2 separate regions of the Homo sapiens genome follow, and region 1 is linked to region 2. Evidence: promoter capture Hi-C in human tissues and cell types (Jung and others, 2019). All regions are on one chromosome and are shown on one strand. The core of a region is centred on a gene start or on the middle of the fragment in contact, and the rest is flanking DNA. Distances in the headings are between cores, read along the strand shown.

What was found. The method cuts DNA at HindIII sites, captures the fragments that hold promoters and counts their contacts. A contact is called where the count stands out against the background at its distance.
Region 1: a fragment that was not itself captured here is called in contact with the fragment with the promoter of PDXK in region 2 in 1 of the 25 tissues and cell types used here (lymphoblastoid cells).

What each region holds. Positions count from the first base shown.
Region 1 is chr21:43,939,687-43,942,558 of GRCh38, reverse strand. The region is part of intron 2 of AGPAT3 (1-acylglycerol-3-phosphate O-acyltransferase 3); the gene reads right to left. Among named protein-coding and RNA genes, the nearest start is that of TRAPPC10, 71 kb to the left of the region's middle. RefSeq lists a silencer at 1,626-1,797 and an enhancer at 2,337-2,872. The HindIII fragment of the contact is 3,906 bases long and covers 1-2,872 here.
Region 2 is chr21:43,717,791-43,720,661 of GRCh38, reverse strand. It overlaps PDXK (pyridoxal kinase), which reads right to left and starts at 1,533. Exons shown (of 11, transcript NM_003681.5): 1 at 1,281-1,533. The coding sequence starts at 1,367. It overlaps LOC124905032 (a long non-coding RNA gene), which reads left to right and starts at 2,114. Exons shown (of 2, transcript XR_007067896.1): 1 at 2,114-2,447. RefSeq lists silencers at 545-734, 892-1,201, 1,242-2,031 and enhancers at 1-840, 2,182-2,231. The HindIII fragment of the contact is 22,908 bases long and covers 1-2,871 here.

The sequences.
Region 1 (2,872 bases), core at 262-2,761, 220 kb before region 2:
ACGCTCAGAGAGTCACATACTGAACACCAGTGGCCACCGCAGGGGCGGGCGTCTCCAGGAAGAGCTGGCATTGTGGGCTCCCTGCTGTCCGTCGCCAGGTACCTGGGCACGTGTGGCGAATGCAGGGTAGGCAGAGGTGCTTCAGGAGCGCCTCGTGAAGGACGCCAGACTCCCAGGCTCCTGGTGAGTGGCCAGCCCGCCTTCCTGCTCTGGGAGGGAGCTGGCGAGGCCTCCCTGGACCCGTGGTGCCATCAATGCAGAATCGCTCCTATTACAGGCCTAGCACCCACCGTGACGCTCAACGTCTCTGTCCCCACAAAAAAACCAAGCCGCCTCTGTGGCCCTCCAGGTCAAACAGGATCAACAGGGACCTCACAAGCCCACAGGTTCCGGAAGCTCCCAGGTCGTACTGCAAGTGCCACTAAATGGCACCTGTGGGTACGCTGCCACGGCGCAGGCCACCACTTGAGGCCTCGAATTCCACAGCTAACTTACTGAAGACCTGAGGGCAAAGGAGAAATGCACATCCTTGGAAACGCTGTGGGTGAGGAGGTGGCACAGCCAGTCCCCTGCCACCTGGTCAGCAGGCTGAAGCTGAGAGGCTTGGCATAAGCCAATTACGAGCAGCTGCTCAGGCGCAATGCGGCACTCTTCCCAGACAGAGGCGCTCTTTTCCCAACACCTAATAGGTCTTTCATCATTTTGAGCATTTGTGAAACTGCATAGCTCAGCCACGAATCCCAGGAAATGATTTGATACCCTTTCTCCGCCCAGGCGCCAGGAACGGTCCGTGGAAGCTGCCAGAGTCGCCCGCTCGCTGGGGCCAGCCTGCCCTGTATACATGGCCCCCGTCACACTCGCGGTAGCCCCAGGTTGAGGATGAGTGAGCGGTTGCTCCTGGGGTTTTGGAACCCTCACCAATGACCGACCCCCTTGCTCAAACTCTCAGAGGCCCCAAATCCCAAGCTAATTTGTCTCCTAAATTCCACACTTAGGTTCTGTTTGTTTTTTAGAGATGGGGTCTCGCTCTGTTGCCCAGGCTGGAGTGCAGTGGCGTAATCACAGCTCACTGTGGCCTTGACCTCCTGAGCTCAAGGGATCCTCCTGCCTCAGCCTTAGGATTCTGTCTTTTGGCTCTGGGTAAACCTCTTTGTAAATAGTATTGATCGTTTTTACATAAACTGAGTCATGGGGAAGACTGGGCATCCTCCTGCCTGTGTCACCTGCAGTGACCCTCCCCGCTGTTAGCAATGGAAGTGCATTAATCGGATCTATAGAAGAGAAAGCTTCCAGATCAGAGAGAAGCAGCTCCTGGCCAAGTGTGCACCAAGAAAAACAAACACAGTCTAGCGTGGAACCTCCAGGGGAGCTGTGGTCTCTTCCTAGGAAATCACCTCGTTCTCCGGCTCTAGAAAATAAAGTTGGCACCCAGACTTGGGGTTTTTGGGTCCCCCCAGCTGCCCCCTGCACCACCTGGTACCATCATCACACACCCCATGGACAGAGGCTGGCACGCATCTTGTGCCCTTTGACCCTCTGCAGAAACAGCAGGCGGCATCAGTGTCCCGTTTTACCAACGAGCACTGGAGGCCTGGAGCACAAACACCCCATCTAATCCCAGCCCGGAGACACAGCGGGGTTGGGACCGAGTCTCTGAAATCCTAGGCCAGCGTGATCTGTGACACCTGCTGATTCTCGGCTTCTGCAGTAAGAGCCGGCACGGACTCTGGTCAAGGGCAGCTGGGAAATCGCCTGCGATCACCATAAACCAGCCCATCAGGCAATGGGTGTGACAGAGCAGCGCCACTTTGATGGTAACTACGCATTTTCTGCTCAGGGTGCAGATCACCATGTAAATCAGCCATCCTACAGCACCTGCCTTGGGGGGCAGTGGGAGTCTGTGCCCATACATCAGGCACTTGTCCGTCCCAGGACATGCCAGGCATCTACAAACACCGCCCAGATGGTATGAAACCGCTCAGCTCCTTCAGGAATGTTCTGAACAAAAACCCCTTTGCAGAAGGATGGGAGAGCTGCCCAAGGACCCCAGGAGGGATCAGAATGAGTTCCTGCCATCCCCTGCTTCCCTACCTCCCAGGAGTTCCCCTGCAAAGGGCTAGGCAGGGTTTGTTGACATGCAGAGAACGGTCCAGGGCTGGAAGAGGAGGGGAGCACACAGTAAAGGCCCCCAGGACTGCCCAGGCCCCCGGGCCCCGGCCTCACTCACCAGTAGAAGTAATAGGCCAAAGCCACCGCCAGCAGGGCCACACAGATCCCTGAGAAGAGGCAGGCCGGGTAGCTGCTCAGCATCTTCAGCCCTCGGTCCTGTGCTGCCTGAAGCCGGCGAGAAGGACCTGCGGGGAGCAGGTGTCAGCCTGGCCAAAGGGTGAGGAGCCGAGCTCAAGCGGAGGGATTAGGACCTGGCCTGAGCTGCCCAGGCTTGGCAGGGGCCGTTGCCACCCAGAGCATCTGCTCAGCAGGAAGTGGGTGCTGGGCACCCCCAGGGTGCCACCTGCGTGGCCAGCACTGTCCTTCTAGTCACAGAGACCAACTCAAGGGACCCCAGGAGCGCGCTGAAGCAGGACATACACACAGGTTCGTCCTCCTGCGCACAGCTGCGGGCTCTGCCGTCGGGGCACCGGCTAATCCAATAAGCAGCTTTTGGCCAGGAGCTGCTCACTGTAAACAGGCAGAGTCACAGGGCCAGCCAGGATGCAGGTCAACGAGCCCCACCCCAGCACAGACCCCTAGGACCAGGGACCTAAGAGTGCCCACATCTTCCTCCTCACAGCACCAGTGTGTCAAGGGGCCAGGTTGTGGGTGAGTTGGTGAGGTCTACCCTGTGCTCAGCCGTGGGCTAGCAAGATCCCTG
Region 2 (2,871 bases), core at 284-2,783:
GTCCAGAGCAGTGCTTAAGAGCCGGAGCCACAGAACCGGTGCACCCTGACTGTCCCAGGCAGGGTCTGCCTGCAGCTGGATGGAACAGGGTCTCAAGTAAGACCACCTGTGAAGCACCGCATCCTTCCCAACAGGACCTCCACTTACTTCGGACTCGAACCCCCTGCCTTTCCACGCTCAACTCTGCTCAGCTTGGTCCTCCTGGGGGCACGCCTAGGTCAGCCCTCAAATTCCACTGAAGCTCTGCTCCCCTCTTCCTGTCCTCCTCCCAGGCCAGCCCGCACCGCAGGCCCCGCCGTGCCCAGGTGGCCCTTCTTTACATCCCGTGGGGCCCAGCACAGGGACCAGGCATACCTGCTCCCGTCCCCAGTGACCAGGCCGCAGGTGGGCAGCACAGGAGAGCACGACCCGGCAGGGCACCCCCAGCCCTCCTGCTGACTCGACAAGGCCAGGAAGTGCCCGTCGTCCTGGTTCTGCCTCGGCCCTGCGTGACACCCACGCCACTGCACCCAGGCCTCTCCTACCCCTCCACGGGCCACTTAGCTGCAACCAGGAGGCCGTGGGCCAACGCGTTTTAAAAGCTGGCTCCCTAAAGCCAATCCGCACAGTCCCGAACTGCTCTCTGGGGCTTCTCCTCGTCAGAGCAAACACCTGCAGGGATGCCGCTCTGCTAGAGGGTGCAGAGCAGCCCCTGCCCCACCCTCTTCCCTTCGGCCACCTCCTGGCGTGGTCAGGCCGAGGGGAATCCACCCTCGTGGGCACCGTGACCTCACTCGGCGTCTTCTTCCTGACTTCCCCACGCACAGGGGCCCAGGAGGTGAGCGCGCGAGCGTCTCGAGCTCCACGGCCGCTTCTGCGTTCCAGCGGGGCAAGGTCCCGGCTCGCGTGACTGCTCCGGGACTCCTCGGGGCTCTGCGACATTTCCTCGCCTCCGGGAGCCGCACCGCCCGCCCGCCCCCGCGGCAGTTGGCCCGGTCGGCGGGAAGGGGCGAGGACGAGCGGCTGCGCCATAGCTGGTGCACAGGGCTCCCTCCTACCCGCGTACCCCGACGCCGGACCCGTCCCACCCGCAGGGGCCCGCAGAGCGCTCAGCCCTCCGCTTCCGCCCCCGCAAGCCAAGCAGAGCGGGAGGCTCATCCCGCGCCTGCCTCCAGGGCGCCCGCGCCAGGCTCTGCCCGCAGCTCCCGAGCCTCCCTCGGGGAACTGAGGCTCGTCTCGGGCAGCCCCGCCAAGGTCACGGGCTCGGGTTACGTAAGCCCGGGCTGCGGGCGGATGCGTACCTGCAGCGGGAACGTGGCCGCCCGGTTGCCCACGTAGCCGCGGATGACGTGGCTCTGTATGGAGAGCACCCGGCACTCCTCCTCCATGCCGGGCCTGGCCGCGGCGGCGCGGGGCCGAGGCGGGGGCACGGTCTCCGCCGCTCGCTCGGGCTCCGGCTCGGCTCGGGCTCGGGCTCCGGCCCCGGCTCCCCTCGGCTGCGACTCTGGCTCTGGCGCGCGGCGGACCCGATCAGCGCAGACGCCTCCTTCTGACCTCAGCGGGCGGCTCCGAACCCGCGAGTTCCGCGCGGCGCCGGGGGCTGGCCGGGGGCGGACCGGGGCGGGGACAGCCACGCAGGCCCCGCCCCCGGGCTGGGAGGAAGCGAAACCGGACCCTGGCCGCGCGGCCGCGCCAGGTGGCCCCCGCCACTCTGCCGCCCGAAACGCTGGGTTTGCACTTTCATTCCGCCTGGAGAGGGCTCTGCAGCGCCGTTCATTCGTTCGTTCATTCATTCATTCAACCATTGTGCTCCGCCTCAGCCCTGCGCCCCGCGCCCCGCGCCCCGCGCCCCGCCGCACGCAGGGGAGACTCGGGGGCCCGGGCTCCACGCCCCTGACCTCCGGGCGCGACACTCTCGCAACGCGGATGGCCACGAGAGTGCGCGCGGGCGTGGGAATAGTGCGGAGGCGCGAAAGTGACCCCGGACCCCGGATACCCAAGGGAACCGCGCTCTCAACTGCCTGCAGGGCCCGGAGCCCGCATCCGATCCGCGTCCCTTCCCAGGGGCCGCGCGGGAGCTGACAGACACGGGGCCGGGGGGACCCAGTCAACTCCGCACCGGCCTGGGGCGGCGGGCTTCTCTGGGGGCGCCCCAGACCCTTGCGGACCCTGAGTGCCCACTCTGGTGGCGCGGCCTGCAGAGGCCCCCAGCCGATGGCCACATGCCCGGCCGTCCATCCACAGGTGCCTGGGTCTGGGCCGCGTGTCCGATCCCACCCCAACCAGGTCTTCCTGTGGAGGGCCTGCCTTCGAGGACGAACCTGACCCCCTGGGGGACCCCACAGCCTTCACTTCCCACCCCTACGCTCTCCACAGCTGACGCACTCCCTGCGGCTTCCCTGCACCACCCCGGGGAACGGAGGCCTTTGGGTTCCAGACTTGCAGACATGGTGATTTGGGGCCCTGGGGTCAGTATCACCAGACTAAAGTCTTGGTGACCTAACACAGCGCACCTAGGGCTCTGTAGCTTGGTGAGACCCAATGCCCGACCAGGCGGGTGCTGAGGACTGAGGGAGGAAGACATTACTTAGAGATCTAGGCTTTTAAAAGAAAGTACTTCATAATTAGTCATAATTGTCCATTAATAATAGCTAACATTGGCCGGGCGCGGTGGCTCACGCCTATAATCCCAGCACTTTGGGAGGCTGAGTTGAGCGGATCAAGAGGTCAGGAGTTCAAGACCAGTCTGGCCAACATAATGAAACCCCATCTCTACTAAAAATACAAAAATTTAGCTGGGTGTGGTGGTGTGCACCTGTAATCCCAGCTACTTGGGAGGCTGAGGCAGGAGAATTGCATGAACCCAGGAGGTGGAGGTTGCAGTGAGCCAAG